2 separate regions of the Homo sapiens genome follow, and region 1 is linked to region 2. Evidence: promoter capture Hi-C in 16 types of primary human blood cells and fetal thymus (Javierre and others, 2016). All regions are on one chromosome and are shown on one strand. Each heading gives the region's core, a stretch centred on a gene start or on the middle of the fragment in contact. The rest is flanking DNA. Distances are from core to core; before and after follow the strand shown. Region 1 overlaps HTATIP2 (HIV-1 Tat interactive protein 2). Region 2 holds the start of C11orf58 (chromosome 11 open reading frame 58).

The links. The method cuts DNA at HindIII sites, captures the fragments that hold promoters and counts their contacts. A CHiCAGO score of 5 or more calls a contact.
Region 1: a fragment that was not itself captured here is called in contact with the fragment with the promoter of C11orf58 in region 2 in 4 of 17 cell types (total CD4 T cells, non-activated CD4 T cells, naive CD8 T cells and 1 more); the score reaches 10.6 in total CD4 T cells.

The regions. Positions count from the first base shown.
Region 1 is chr11:20,378,395-20,381,452 of GRCh38, forward strand. All of the region lies in intron 3 of HTATIP2 (HIV-1 Tat interactive protein 2), which reads left to right. Among named protein-coding and RNA genes, the nearest start is that of PRMT3, 7.8 kb to the right of the region's middle. The HindIII fragment of the contact is 276 bases long and covers 1,317-1,592 here.
Region 2 is chr11:16,737,325-16,740,452 of GRCh38, forward strand. C11orf58 (chromosome 11 open reading frame 58) reads left to right here and starts at 1,323. Exons shown (of 5, transcript NM_014267.6): 1 at 1,323-1,517. The coding sequence starts at 1,455. It also overlaps a transcript of SOX6 not described here. RefSeq lists an enhancer at 1,197-1,826. The HindIII fragment of the contact is 4,072 bases long and covers 232-3,128 here.

The DNA.
Region 1 (3,058 bases), core at 205-2,704, 3.6 Mb after region 2:
CTGGGCTCAAACAATCTCCAGCCTCAACCTCCTGAGCAGCTGGGACTACAGGCATGAGGGATCAGGCCCAACTTGTTTTTTAAAACACTGACACATGTGGGTTCTGAGAAAGGTTATCAAATAGGATTTTTGCTCTCATTAGCAAGATCAACATTTATACCTTTTAGGAAAGAAAATATACATAAGATATTTCCTCATTGTTAAAGATAAAGGCGTTACTACTGACTCACTGGGTTATAATAATGATTTAACCAGATTTTTAAAAAAATAGCTAACACTAAATGAGCCAGGCAGTATTCTGAGGGCTTTTATGTGCATTTGCGTGGAAACAGGTACTGTGATATTAAGACCACCAGCTGTTGGCTGGGCACGGTGGCTCACGCCTGTAATTCTAGCACTTTGGGAGGCCGAGGTGGGAAGATCACTTGAGGCTGGGAGTTTGAAACCAGCCTGGGAAACGTGGCAAAACCCTGTCTGTACTAAAAATACAAAAATTAACTGGCACAGTGGTGTATGCCTGTAATCCCAGCTACTCGGGAGGCTGAGGCAGGAGAATTGCATGAACCCGGGAAGCAGAGGCTGCAGTGAGCCAAGATCACATCACTGCACTCCAGCTTGGGGACAGAGTGAGACTCTGTCTCAAAAACAAAACAAAACAAAACAAACAACAACAACAACAACAACAACAAAAACACCAGCTGTTAAGCGGCAAAGCTAGAGCTTGAACCCAGGCTGATTCCAAGGCCTATGCCACTAGCTATTAAGTAATGAATAGCCTTTGTCACTAATACATGCAAAAGGGACCCAGCAGAGATTGGACCGTGACAGAGCCTCAGCAAATATTAAGGCCAATACAACGGAAAGACACTTCTGATTTCACTGCAATTGGCCTGCATTACCTGCAGCCTGGGATTATGAATTAGATTAATAAAGGACAGAAATGACAACCAAATGATCCAACCCAGAATGACGCTGAACAATATATAATTGCTTTTACAATTTGGAAAGATTATCTTTCCAAAATAATCCTTCAACTACTGTGTGTAACATTCCTAGTATTTATTGCCTATTTTCTCAGCCTCCATGTGTGTATGAACTCCCCCGCCCCACCCAATTTTAGAAACTCCTTTATTGTTTAGGAACATTTATTCTACTCAATGAAGTTTCAATTGCATTCATTCATGGTGGGCCAGCTCTGGGGGCTTGGATCAATCATGTGCTTTATGGGCATTCTGCTGGTGCCGTGGGGAGACGTGTCAGGATGTGGAGCCCAGAGTACTGGATGGGCCTCATGTCCTCTGTTCTCAGGGTTTATAAGCTTTGGTTTCCTCATCTATTCAGGGTGAAGGTATACTTTCCAGACATGTGACATTTTATTATTGGGTATCATCCTTGACCTCAAGGAGTTTATAATCTGCTTGTATTGAGGGATCCTCAAAGACACCCCCAAGTTTGGTAATTCACTAGAAGGTTTCATAGGACTCAGCATATAGTCATACTCACAGCTACAACTTATCGCATTGAAAGGATATAGAGCAAAATCAGCAAAGGGAAAAGGTGTGTCGGGTGAAGTCTGGAGGAAAGTAGGTACAAGCTTCCAAGAGGCCTCTCCCCATAGAGCTTGCACAGGATGTGCTTAATGTCTCCAGCGATGAACGTTTTCTGCCAGAGAAACTCATCTGAGCCTAGGAATGCAGGGTTTTTATGGGAGCCAGTTACATAGGCACATTGGCCTAGCCAAATTGCAGCCCTCCAGAAGAAAGGCAAGTTTTCAGCATAAACCACATTGTTTGTACAGACAGTTTAGGCATAGTACATGACCCTTATCAGATAGGGAATGGTGGGAACACACCGAAAATCCAAGGTTGCAAGCACAAGCCAGGGGCCAAACTTGTAACAGGCCTTTCTAAGGATAGCAGTCTCAGCCTGCTATGGTATCTCTTTTATGCACACTGCTAATAGAGACAAAACAAATCTTTTAAAAAGCTAAGAAATGGGCTGGGCGCGGTGGCTCACGCCTGTAATCCCAGCGCTTTGGGAGGCCGAGGCGGGCGGATCACGAGGTCAGGAGATTGAGACCATCCTGGCTAACACGGTGAAACCCCGTCTCTACTAAAAATACAAAAAATTAGCCGGGCGTGATGGCAGGTGCCTGTAGTCCCAGCTGCTCGGGAGGCTGAGGCAGGAGAACGGCATGAACCCGGGAGGCGGAGCTTGCAGTGAGCTGAGATTGCGCCACTGCACTCCAGCCTGGGCGACAGAGTGAGACTCCATCTCAAAAAAAAAAAAAAAAAAAAGCTAAGAAATGTGTGTACACATAAAATCTTGTGTATGACTGTTCATAGCAGCATTATTTATAATGGCCAAAGAGTGGGAACAACCTAGATAGCCATCGACTGATGAATAGATGAATAAAATGTGATATATTCATGCAATAGAATATTATTCAGCTATAAAAAGAAATGATACATACTACAACATGGGTGAACCTTGAAAATATTATGCTAAGTGTGAGGAGACAGTCACAAAAGACCACGAATTATATGATTTCATTTATATGAAATGTCCAGAATAGGCAAATCTATAGAGATAGAAGGTACATTAGTGGTTGACTAGGTCCCCAGAGGGTAGGGTACGAGGAGTGACTGCTAATGATATGGGATTTCTTTTCAGGGTGATGAAATATTTTAAAACTTAGATCGTGATGAAGGTTACAGAGTTCTGTGTATATACTAAAAACCACCTATTAAAAAAAAAAGAATGGCCAAGCGCGGTGGCTCTCGCCTGTAATCCCAGCACTTTGGGAGGCTGAGGCGGGTGGATCACTTGAGGTCAGGAGTTCGAGACCAGCCTGGTCAACATGGTGACAACCCCGTCACTACTAAAAATACAAAAATTAGCCAGGCATAATGGCGGATGCCTGTAATCCCAGCTACTTGGGAGGCCGAGGCAGGAGAATTGCTTGAACCTGGGAGGTGGAAGTTGCAGTGAGCCAAGATCATGCCCTTGCACTTCAGCCTAGGTGACATGGTGAGACTCTATCACACACAAAAAATAC
Region 2 (3,128 bases), core at 73-2,572:
GCCTCCCGAGTAGCTGGGATTAGAGGCATGTGCCATCATGCCAGGCTAATTTTTGTATTTTTAGTAGAGACGTGGTTTCACCATGTTGATCAGGCTGGTCTCGAACTCCTGACCTCGTGATCCACCCGCCTCAGCCTCCCAAAATGCTGGGGATTACAGGCCTGAGCCATGGCGCCAGGCCTAATTTTTGCTTAAAAAAAAAAAAAATCACATTTGTATTCAAGGTGAGAAAGCTTCAGAATTATTAAGGACAAGGATTCTGACAGAAAGTTAAGTTCAGACCTGGTTACAAATTCAGACACCTTAATAAAGTAGGAGATAGTCTTCAGTATCTGAACAATAAATAGCTTTAAATGCAGGGCTTTTTGAGTAGAGGAGTGATCACTTGAATCTGGAGAGAGGGCGAGAAATGGGGAGGGATTGCTAACGGGCATTGGGGTTCCTTTTGGAGTGGTGAAACTTCTTGGAATCAGAGGTGACAGCTGCACACGATTGTGAATGTACTAAGTGACAGTGGATTGTACACTTTTTAAAAAATGGTTAATTTTATATGTGAATTTAACCTCAATAATTACTTTTTTTAAAAAAGAAAAAAAATAGAGGCTTTTGTGGCAGGGATGGACTTTGCTTGGTGAAGGCCCCTACTGTAACGGTGCCCAGACATCCACAGCGAGGTCAGTGAGGAGCACTCCCACCTCACACAAAGCCATATGAAAACTTAACAGATTTCCCTCAGCTAAATCCCCGTTTTCAACAACCGCCAATTAGCCAACATTTAACAACATACTGAACTCATTTCTGTATGGGAAAACAGCGAAATATTCATGAAAACATTTAGAAAGCAGCATCACCGACCACCTAGAAATCCCCTGCGCGCAATAGAGAACACCAGGGTGGAAATGGTAGAAGCCATTTTTGGTTAAGGTTTTTGTCCTGGGTGGAGGGTATTCGTGAGGATTCAGTCAGCCTCAAACATTACATTTAAACATAGGTGCCTAGCTACGATGATACATTTGCCAGTAGGGCAGCGTTGCACGGTGAAAGGCAAAAACCCCTCTAAGCCTCCTCCTGTGGCGACAAAGCTCTCGGCCAACGCTCACCGCCATACACATCCGCGGGAACGCTTCCTCCACCAGCCGAAGGCGGGGCCTCTGAGGGCACTCCCGCCACACAGCGCGAATTGAGCCTCGGGGCTTCCTGGGAATTGTAGTTTTAGTCACGGACACATCTTTTTTATTCGGGCCAGTATGCAATGAATCAGAAAACTACAACTCCCAAAGTGCCCCGGGGCGGCGAGGGGCCGCAACGGTGACGACTGTGGCAGAGAAGGCCCGGAGGGGCTCTGCGTTCTGTAGTGGCGCTGCTTGGGCCCTTGGCGGATTGTAAGCTGCTGGTTTTGCGGCTGGGAAGAGCGGCGAGAGGGTTCGGCATTTTTCGTCGGGATCCCCGCAAGGATGAGTGCTGCCAGAGAGTCTCACCCGCATGGGGTGAAGCGTTCAGCCTCCCCAGACGACGATGTAAATAATAATGGCGGAGTGGCTGAGGGTTGAGGCCTACTAAAGCCTGGAGTAGGCCGGGAAGGGTGGTTGGAGGAGGACGCGCCTGAGGTGGCCTGCAGCGGGAGAGCCCAGGGAAGAAACCAGAAGAATGAGTGGGAAATGCCTCCCTTAATCTTTATGAGGGTCAGAAGGTTTGAAGAGGCCCACACGCTGAGAGCCGGAGACCTGCGTAGGAAGGGGGATTGAGGAAGGAAATTCTGAGAGGGTCGAGGAGTGAAAGAGCTTAGTCAAGGGATTTCGTACGTGCGTTTTGGGGGGCCGATGAGAGTGCTTTCTCGGGCCTTTGTACTCAGTATAGAGACGGCAAGACTCTCCCTGTTTTGGGTTCTAAATGTTCCCGTGACAATGTCGAAATGTTCGTGCACGTTTGTACAGATTTTTCCTGCCTGGATGATTTTTACAATGTGCTGTTGAGAGTTAACTTTAGCTGCACTAGTAAGGGTAAACCGAGAACAGTATTGAGCCGAAAATTGTGCCACGGGTGTAATTTGGTACTGGCTCTGGTGGTGAGGTCTAAGACGTTGAGACCTAGAAGCCCATTTTGATGTCGGATATTAATACCTCGTTCTTCTTACCTCGTCTCCCCATCAAATGCCGTTCCCTTCCTCAGCCCTCACCTCATAGGTTTTAATAGCAAACGGTTTATCCCTTAAAGTAACCCGTTAAATATTTACTGCACTGCCGGGTGTTGGGAATTCGGAGAGAAATATGATGCTTATTTTAGGCCTTTTTGTATATTTGTCCTAGCTCCTAGCCCAGTGTCATGGAAACGGTAGGTAACCAGTAAACGTAAAACTAGGTCCTTCATACAATGGATAAGTGTCTTGGCAACGTTGATGGGGAAAATTGTTGGAGAGAGCGCGGAGAGGTCATCTTTAAGGAAGATGAAGGGATATCTAGGTTTTTTTTCGGTTTTGTTTAAAGTACTGTCAATTTCTGAATACATAGAGCTTTAAATTTTTCGATAGTGCATTTCAACGCTCTTCATAAAATTTTAAAAGCCCACTGAATACTACTTTGTAGCAAATGAGATAATGTTAAGACCTACCCCTCTGATGGGAGGTGGGGCGAGGACCGGAATATTAAGGATCTTTAAAGGAATCGACTTCAGCTCTGCAGAAAGATTAGCAATCAGTAAAGATTTGGGGATGAATGGGCACCTAGAGAAGTTTATTCTTGCTCTCTGTTATTTCTGCTACTGGATTTTAGATCTTGTTAATATGGTAATTCAGGTTTTGTCAGGAATTGATCCACACTTTTGAGTAACCTGGCTGCCACTTAAAAAGCTGTTACATTGTTTTCCTCCTGATCTTTAAATGTGACTTGATTGCTAGGATATCAGACACCTGTTTGGAAATATCTTTTAGCGTGACAGAAAACTCCAGGTGATATGAAATTTAACAAAGTTAAAGGGATTAAGTCATTAAGTTTACAGCTTCGGAAGAGGTCGGTTTAAACTAGACGACCTTGAAGACCTTTCCCAATCATATAAGCGTATCTTTAAGTACCTGGGTTTTGTTTTTGTTTTGAGACAGGTGAGACAGGGTCTCTGTCGCCCAGGCTGGAGTG